2 separate regions of the Homo sapiens genome follow, and region 1 is linked to region 2. Evidence: promoter capture Hi-C in 16 types of primary human blood cells and fetal thymus (Javierre and others, 2016). All regions are on one chromosome and are shown on one strand. The core of a region is centred on a gene start or on the middle of the fragment in contact, and the rest is flanking DNA. Distances in the headings are between cores, read along the strand shown.

Region 1 (4,876 bases), core at 1,645-4,144, 380 kb after region 2:
ATCTACCCTCCCAGGGCCCTGGTGATTGCTGCTGCTCTGAGTTATGTAACTCCTGCTCACAGGCCCAACCAAGCAGAGTGATGATGCTACAATCACATCAGAGATTGTAAATGATGGGGTGATGATGAACAGGGGTTGCATTTTTTTTTTCTGTGTGCCCTGTATAGTTGTAGTCGCTGGCATGTCAGGTGATCAGTAAAGACTGAAATAGAAAAAGAAAAGAAAAGGAACAATTCTTGTCCCCTAGTCCCTGCTCTACTACTGAGTTACTATGTAACATTGTGCCATTTGCGGTTTGAATTAAAACATAAAATTAACGTGTGTAAGTATTTTCCCCCAAAACTAGGATGTGCATGTAAAAAACAATACCCATAAATGTTAATCATTAATAGCTTAGAAGGTGCTTTTCTGAGAGTTGATTCAGGAGCATGCTGACTGCCTTTATGGATTTGAGGGCCTCCCCCACACTTTTTAGGAAGACCTCCAAGGTTTCACCCTGTGGCCAACCATGAAACTTTTGAATACATTCAAGACCTAGAAAGAGGAGGACAGTGCACGCTTTCTTCCCTTCCTCACTTGTTTGTTCAGGCTGATAACTAGGAAATCAAATGTAAACAATTCATGTATGAACTAAAACCAGTGCTCACAGTATTGAACATTTATTTGAGGAAGATGTTAAGAGTCATATATAAAATCTAATCATATGCATATGTTTTGTGGGACACACAGGAGCCATGTGGTTCTTATGGTTAGTAGGGATTTCACATGAGAGTCTAGAAGCTGAAGGCTTTGAATATGGTTGCCATAGAGACAAACAGGCAGTTTATAGAATCCCAAACCAGGAGGATTAATTTTAATAACTTCCATCAAGAAGCAATATAGCTTTATAGTTGATAGCACAGGCTCTGGTGCCAGGCTGCTGTGGTCCAAATCCTTACCGTCTAACAGATTATGTGTGTATACTCAGGACAGTTAATTAATTTTCCTTTACCTTAACGCTATTATCTATAATCTATAAAGCAAGTATAGCGTTAATCCAAACATGCATGGATTATTATGTGACTTAAGTGAATTGAGGTATTTTACGTATAAACTATACATTTATGTATATACATACAAACACATGTGCACACACATAAAAGAGCAACCTGAACCCAGGGAGTGCATAATACATATTATTTATTATTAGTCGACATAGTTATTAAGATTTGTAATGTTTTTTCACTTGTTGGGCAGAAGACAAAATGACTGCTTTTGTTCATCTGAGCCCTCTGGACACTGTATCATTATTTTCTCAGTATACAGATGAACACTGCTTCTTTGCTCCTTCTCCATCTTCTTGGCTCAAACAATTACTAACACTTGTTTCTAAGTAGATTCTAAATTGCAGAGAACAAGAGGCTTTAACTATTTTGGTTGTGAGATACCCCATGAAATGGAAGCTTGACATAAGAATATGGAAGTAGTAATGTGGAAGAAACACAATCTCACTCTTTCATCAACAGGAATTTTAGGGGCCTGTTATTGGCATGACTCTACTGTACCTTTGTTTTCTACTTCAATCTAAATGTCTTTGTCTTTCTGCCAATGGCTGGTTGATTTCTTCTAGTTTTCTGAACCCAAATTGGGAAGCTGAGAATAGCTTTGCTAAGTAATGATGCATCTGCGGGACAAGTTGGGCAATATACCCTCCTGTGGCCCATCTCCAGATTGGCTAAGCCTTGTCAAAGGCCAGCTGCCAGTGCAGGAGTTGTTAAAATTGATAGTGCATCAGAATCACCTGGAGGGGTTGTTAAAAGACAGATTGCTGGCCCCCACCCCTCACAGTTTTCAATTAGGAGGTCTATGAGTGGGGTTTGGGTATTTGCATTTCTCAGAGGCCTCCAGCTGATGCTTATGTCTTTATTCCAGTGACTACACTTTAAACCACCAGTCCAAAAGCAGTGACCCACTCTTTCTTAAGAAATGATTTAGGCTGCTTCCCTCTGCAGTGGAGGGGAGAATGTAAAAGAAACACTGTCCTTGGAAGAGGAAGTCAGTATGACAAAGTATCAAGTAAACTATACCTCAATAAAACTGATTAAAAATTAAAAGCTCGGTAAAACAGGCATTCTCTTTCTTCCTGTAATCCACTGATAGTTGCCCTCAATCAGAATCATGATCTCCTTCACTGCATTCCCTTGTCTCTGAACCAAGGTTATTTAACTTACATTTTTCTGATCTTTTTTTAGAAAATGACTCCATTCATCTACTCTCCTATTACACTTTATCTATTAGATCTCTCTCAAGCATATCTAGAAAGCACTTCAATATTGCAGAGTTTGGTGTAGTCACCTTAAAAACATAGATAGGAAAGTAACACTCTGTTAGTCATTTGTCAGTAGACACTAAAAAAGATGTATAAGTTGAAACATAATCGTTGTTAAAGTTTATAGGAGGCCATTGGTTTAAACTAGCCTCCTGCACTCAGCCCCAGTAGACCAGAATGGACCAAGCCAGAATGGAGTCACTTATGCTTAGTGCCACTTAATCAAACTGAACTTTGAAACAGGCCAGTTTTCCAAAAAACAGGAGATCCCAGTGCTACTACCCTTTACGTAGCAAGGTGACTCTTGGCAAATGTCTCTTCTGAGATTCAGTTTCCTTATCTAAAAATGAGATTAGAAATGTCCTGCTCAATGTACTGTTGTAATAAACTCAAGTAAACAAACGTCCCTGGGACATAGTCAGTTTCATAGTATTAGTTCCCTTCTCTCTTTATTCCCCCTCTGAATTTGAATTGGAAAGATTGTAACGTGCAGAAGCATCAAAGTTCACACTTCATTTTTCACAGCTATACAAAGGCCAAGATAAAGCAACGTAAACATGACACCTACAACTAGACTTCTCAGATTTATGTGTTAGTTTGGTAGGCTTTTTTTTTAACCTCTTATGTATTGAAATATGAAAACTCTTAAGATAATCTGAACATATGTCTTCCAGGGCACTTGAATTACTAAATTAATAAAATGGTTAATATTTGTGGATATCTATTATAGACTTAAAGTGATTTAAATGTTTAACATTTAAATTAAGAAATAGAAAAGAAAAACTCAAAATCAAACAACCTTACCAAATCATGTTGATAATGCACAGGTTTTCGGGAAATTCTCCTTTCTGAGCTACCCCCCACTCTTCCTCAAGCCAATGTTTCTCTGAGCATGAATACACCTCCTCAACAAGATTATAAAACAGGTCAAAAATACAGGAAGACATCTGGAAATGGGCAAGTGTTTCAATAAATTAAAAAATGTATCAATTTTATATTGGCACTTCTGTGTGGTTATTTTCACAGCTAAATGGCTATATTAAAACACATAGATAATAGAGATGAACACCACCACTGTGTAAACATTGAAAGCACACTTCCATGCTTGTAAAGAGCAAGGTCATTTATCTTTCCTGTCAGTTCAAGAGGAACACTCTTGGGTAAAACTTCTCTGCTCATGATGTCTGAAGTTTCTGAATTATGTTTTGAGGCACAGCCTGGTGCAAAATGAATTTGTAAAGTAAGTGACCTTTGTATTTGGTATGTATCAGCTACTACTGCATTTCTGCTCCTTTGCATTTGGAAGCCATTTTTAAACTGAGAAAGCATGTGTCCAGGTTCAATGTTCTGCTCTCTAGATGGAAAATGGAGACAAACAACATGCTTTTGCCCTTGGGGAAACAGACCAAGTTCATAATGAATCCTCCAGTTACATAACTTCAACTTCCTACTGTCATCTCCCATTCAGAAGCCCCTCAAGCTCCTAATATTCAACCTGCACTCAATTTATTCTGTTCCCAATGAGCCACCCCCTCTCCACCTTCAGCCTCACCTATATAATTGCCCTTCAGGAAATTGTGTTGCTGCGCTTTTAGCAGCTAAGCCTGGGAGCATCCCTGGGAACTCTCTCTTCCTCAGACTCTCTCATCAAACCTACTGCCACTTCCATCTCCTATATACCTCCTAAGAGTCTATTTTTCATTGTCAGTGCCACCACCTTTGAACAGCTTCCTAACTGTTCCCCTGCATTCACTCTGCAACCAGAGAGATCATTTATAACACACATTGCTAACAGTTTCCAATGTCTGTCTATTGTCCTGAGGATAGTCCAGTTTCTTTAGATCTGCAATAGGACTATGCCTGTCTCTTGCCTTATGCTTTTTCACTCCTTTCCTATCTTTCTCTTTCTCTCAATATGGAAATCTTCTGTTTATTTGAAAGCATGCTTTTCTCTCTCTTCTCTGGGCTCTTGTACTGGCTGAAACGTTTAACTAGAGGAATCTATATCAATTCATCTGAGTAGTCCCAGAAAAGCTTCCATTTTCAGCAAGATATTATTTCCCTAGGGATGCCTGACCCCTACTTCCTCCACTCAACCATCCCTATTGCCACCCCACTCCTATCCTTACCCATTCACGTCTCCCCATATGGTTAGATAATTTGGTTTCATGGCCTCATACTTAGAAACAAATCATATTTGGGGGTATTCATAATTTAAAGCACACTCCTGAAATAATATTGGCTCATTGTGAAATGTGTTCTGATCCTCTAGTCTCATCTCACATCCAGTCACTTTCCTACACTCTCACCACTTCCCATTTTTATATCGTTTGCCTGCCTCTTTTTACTAGCATTTTAAATACTTTCATTCCCTTTGCAACAGACACTGATGAAGGAGTGATGTTTGTAAAGTATTTCAAAACATCTTAAGATTAAACACAGCATACACAATACTATAGCAGAGACTAAACTTACTGCCCACAACCACTAACACCTATAGGAAGGTCATAGCAGTGATAAGGGTTAGATTCCTTTCTATCTATTGAGGACCTTTCTATCTAAATAGAA
Region 2 (4,639 bases), core at 1-2,500:
CCCTAATTCTGGAGAATTTATACTCTGCCTCTTTTGCTTGTGTTTTAGGAAAGAAGCCCAAAATTCAGGGTACATGAATTAAAATTAAATACTAAGATCAGTAAACCTCAATTGGCACGAATAAACAATATGAAAGAGTAAGCACAAACACGATCTATTTGTTTATCCATCTTTCTTATTGTGATAGCTATACTATGAAATTTCTAAAACTAGATGGGAGACTGGCTTAATATTTTGGCAAATAACCACATGCAAGTTAATGAGGAATGGGAAATAGAGCACTCTGGATTTTAGCATAAACAATTAAAATAAAAAATGCTACATTTCCTATTCCATCAGTTGACGGTATACTTATTTTCCCGGGAGAAATTTGGAATCTAAGCAACTCAGGTCCAGTAAGTGCAAACAACTGACATGCTTAGTCCAACAGGCCCCTGTGAGCAGGCCCTCTAGGGCATTTCCTGACGCCACATGACCAAGACCTTCCCCCCTAGTGGACGCTGCGGGTGATCAAGTGGCCCTGAGGAGCAGGGGCCTGAGACCCAGTCAAGCCTGCTGTCAACCTCCATCTGATGGAGGCCACGTCCTTTTCATGAGGCTGGTAGGAATGTCGCTGTATACCCCCACTATTTCTATTTTCGCAACATTCTTCCCAGTCTTTTCCTTCCTTCTCTTCGTCCCAGCCAAAGTAAAAGCATCCCTGGAATTTAATGGACTGAAAGGAGACCGGACGACTGAGGGGTAGAACGGGGCCCGAAGTGGCTTTGGAAGCAACGGGGTTAAGGGAGAGGCAAAAGGGTTGAGCAGAGAGAGGCAAGAGGCAATCTCCCCCTACCCAACTGCCCCTCCCAGGAGCAGATACGGCACCAACAGCCGGCGAGTCCCTCCGGCCTGGAAGACAAAGGAAGGATCAGGGCCCAGTGGTGACGGGGAGGGTGGGGGCAACGACTCGCGTGAGCTCGGAGACGTGAGAACGCAGCCCCCGCCCCGTTCTCCGCCTCCCCTGAGAAAGGCGGGGCCCCCACGCCGCCCCGAGACAGGTCTCCCCGCCGCGCCGGCAGCGGGTCCCAGGCGGCCGCACACGCCCAGGCACGGGATGCTGCGGGAGAGCGCGGTGGGGGAGGGGAAGGACGCGGAGGCGGAGCCGGCGGGCAAAGAAAGGCCGAGCGGCGGGGCGGGGGCGGGGGCGGGGGCGGGGTCTGGGCTGGGCGGGCGGGGCGGAGCCGGCCGGCCGGGGGCTGCCTGAGACAGTTACTGCCCTGACGGCGGCGGCGGCGGCGGTTGGCCGGTGGGGGCTGGGGCGAGCACGACCGATTCTGCTGGGAAAGCTGGAACTGGCAGCCGCCGGGGGCCAAGAGGAGGATCCGGAGCTGGGAGCGTGCCCCGGGCCCGGCGGAGGAGGCGGCTGCAGTTGGAGTGGAGTCTTGGGAGCGCTGCTGGCAGCGACTTCTCAGCGAAGCAAGTGTCTGAGACTGAGAGTCCCTAACAGCGGCAGCGGCGGCCACGGCGGCGGCTGGGGCCGAGGTAACCGGGGGGCGGCGGCGGCGGTGGAAGCGAGGCCCCTCCCTCGGGTTGGAAGCTGGGAGGCCGAGGCCGTGGCTTGGACCTGACCCAACCACCCACCCTCTCCGGCCTCGAGCCCCAGATTTGCCCTCTTCCCTCGCACCGCCGTCGGCCGGGTGGGAGCGGGAGCGGGGCATGGGGCGGGAGCGCAGAGGCGGAAGCCGACCGGGAGGCGACCCCTCGTCTGGGATTGGCAAGGACCTCAGTCACCCCCTCCCCCTTCAAAAGACACACCCCAATCTCGGTGCGGGGCGGGGTGCAGAGGCGCTCCCAGCCTCTGGAAGGGCAGACCTCGGTGTGGAGGCTGCACCTTCGCTCGTGGCCTCTCTGAGGTGGCTCCCCTGTGGCTCCTCTGGGCGGTTCCAACCCAAGGTGGTGCCCGGCGCTGGGAATCCCGGAGTTCCTTTTGTCTGTCAGCTGAAACTGGAGGCCGGACCTGTGGGCAGACACCCACCAGCACCGAAGCACTCTACTCTTTATCCCTTTCCTGTCTTGGAAGGAATTTCTCTCTAGCAGCCTTTTCTCCGGCCAGACTGGTAGATTTTATCCCTGACCTCCATCCTTGGCCCAGAGGAAGGAAGGATTCACATTTTACTTGTGTTTGCTTTATCATTCTTATAAGAACAGTCATCCCCCATCGTTTTTGTTTTTTTTTTTTAAACCGTTTCCCATCCAGCTGCAACCCTGGTAATCTTCCCCTAGATTTTTGCACATTATCAACAAAGAAGTGTGGCTGGAGGAGTAGACAGTCCTTGACTGACTGGACTGTGTAAGTTAATAGAGCTTCCTTAGCTGGCGCTGTTCTACCAGTCTACTGTGAATGAGCGTTTTGCCTGGAGTTAAGGGTGTTACTGTATGTGCGTAAAGTTTCTCCCCCCCTCCTTTGCTATGGTGAAGTTGCAAAAATCTTGGGTAACTTGATTAAAATGTGGCTGTTTGGGAAGCATAACAATGAGGAAGAAAAATGCAGAAGGGAGAATGTGATTATTTCAGTGGTTTTTGTCCAACTTTTTGAAAGTGCCAAAGGTGAAGTACGTGGATTTTTGAGATTACGTTAACTGGTACACTGCAACCTTTATTGTCCTTAATAAGTTTTTAACATATGATATTTTGCACTGAGGTATTTTTGTTTGTTTTATTTTAGTTACTTGTGGAAATTGTTGATTACCCGGACGTCTTAAAACCAAGAAACCTGTGAACAGGTTCATTAAGAATCTGCTGTCTTGAAAAATGCATATTATGAATGCTTTGAATTAAGAAGGTGTTAACAGTGGTTGTCATTTCTGCCACATAAGAGACTATAATCTGAAACAGTTCCTGGCAGTTGCCCAGATGCCTGAAACTGGCACGATCTAGTACTCTTGAGTGATCATCCTTCAACGAGAAATACAGAGCTACTTACATACTGTACCTCATACCGTATAAATGTAATCTCTCTGATGCCATTTAATGCAGTGGACCTCTTTTCAGAATCTAATTGTCAGATGCAGAATTAACACTTGGAATCTGGAGAAGCATTTTGTACAAATTGAAAGATTGGGTTTTTTCTTTAGTTTTCCACATGTATTGTCTCATCTCTGTTCTTGAAACATCCACAATCACATAAACTCCAGTTATAACCATGGAGTTATGTGACTCATTAAAATTTAGGAAAAGTGTTGCTGAGCTGTGGAATCAGGCGTTTCTCCCTCAGTTCAACAACTAATACATAGACTGCTGATCAAGAATAAGGAACCAAATAAAGTCATGCACGTTCTGTTGACAGAGGAACTCTGTGGCTGTTGAATTTTACTGTAACTAGTTACTCTGTCTTCAGAGTCAACTTAATATACAAGTTATGTCATAATGGATGGAAAGACCTGTGTTGATGTATCCAGACTCTAGCAAATGAAGATAAAAAACCCGTTATGACTAATCCTTGGGAAGAGAAAGTCTGCAAAATGGCTCAAACCAGTTTACTGCAAGGGAAGCAGTTTTACTGTAGGGAGTGGGTTTTCCACAAGCTTCAGCATTGCCTCCAGGAGAAAAGTAACTGCTGCAATAGTGCTGTCAATGCACCATCACTTGTAATGAATTCTGGGAATAATGCTAGTGGTGTCTCTGGAAAGGGAGCTGCCTGGGGTGTGTTGTTGGTAGGAGGGCCTGGCAGTGGCAAGACGGCCCTATGTACTGAACTCTTATGGCCAAGTTCACCTGCAAGTTTGCAGAGAGGTTTACATCGCCAAGCTTTGGCCTTTCATTTCTGCAAAGCCCAGGACTCTGATACTTTGTGTGTTGGAGGGTTTATTAGAGGTCTAGTAGCCCAGATCTGCCGCAGTGGACTACTCCAAGGATATGAGGACAAGCTAAGGGATCCAGCAGTCCAAAGCCTCTTACAGCCTGGGGAGTGCGAGAGAAACCCAGCCGAAGCATTTAAAAGGTAACAATAAAAATGTCATGGTGTTCAGATTTCTATGCTGAAATTAAATTAATTTTTAGTTGTAGTTTTTTGTTTTAACTTTGTGGGTTACTTTTACTGGTGCTGTACATTTGGCCTTAATCTGAAGTTATGAGTATACCTGTTTACTTTGAATATCAAAGGAAGTAAAATTTAGGTTTTGGTATTGCACAGCATATGGATTAAAATGGATTAAAAGTGTATCTTAATTTTACTTAATAACATAATGTTACTTACATTGCCTATAAATGGTAAGGGAAATTTGTTCTTATGGTAGAGAAGCACATTTAGCTGTCTGGAAATAGGTTACATTTTCAGAGGGTGAACTGAACTTAGAGTAATTATCAGTATAGCATCTAGTATCTTTTTATTTTTTTCCTTATAGTAGTAGTATTTTTTTAAGTAAGAAAGGTTTTCTTTAAAGGAGATTATTGGCCACTGAGAATCTGAAGAAAATTTGCTGATGAGTTTTGGGATTTATTCTCCTATTAACTAACTAATTGAAAAACTGGTATTTAGAAGTATGTGAATTTATAAAATAGCGAACATTTGGGATCATCTTACTACTTTTACTTTTAGTGAGTGGTACAAAGAAAGTGTTTTTTCCTAACTTCAGCAAAGCTTTTTTTCCATGGTAAA

Evidence for each region. The method cuts DNA at HindIII sites, captures the fragments that hold promoters and counts their contacts. A CHiCAGO score of 5 or more calls a contact.
Region 1: a fragment that was not itself captured here is called in contact with the fragment with the promoter of ANKRD50 in region 2 in 1 of 17 cell types (endothelial precursors); the score reaches 9.7 in endothelial precursors.

The regions. Positions count from the first base shown.
Region 1 is chr4:124,327,896-124,332,771 of GRCh38, reverse strand. No RefSeq gene overlaps it. Among named protein-coding and RNA genes, the nearest start is that of LINC02516, 230 kb to the left of the region's middle. The HindIII fragment of the contact is 2,900 bases long and covers 1,445-4,344 here.
Region 2 is chr4:124,709,343-124,713,981 of GRCh38, reverse strand. It overlaps ANKRD50 (ankyrin repeat domain containing 50), which reads left to right and starts at 1,250. Exons shown (of 5, transcript NM_020337.3): 1 at 1,250-1,524; 2 at 2,708-3,982. The coding sequence starts at 3,471. RefSeq lists enhancers at 711-1,276, 1,277-1,842 and silencers at 994-1,373, 1,524-1,763. The HindIII fragment of the contact is 8,904 bases long and covers 1-3,568 here.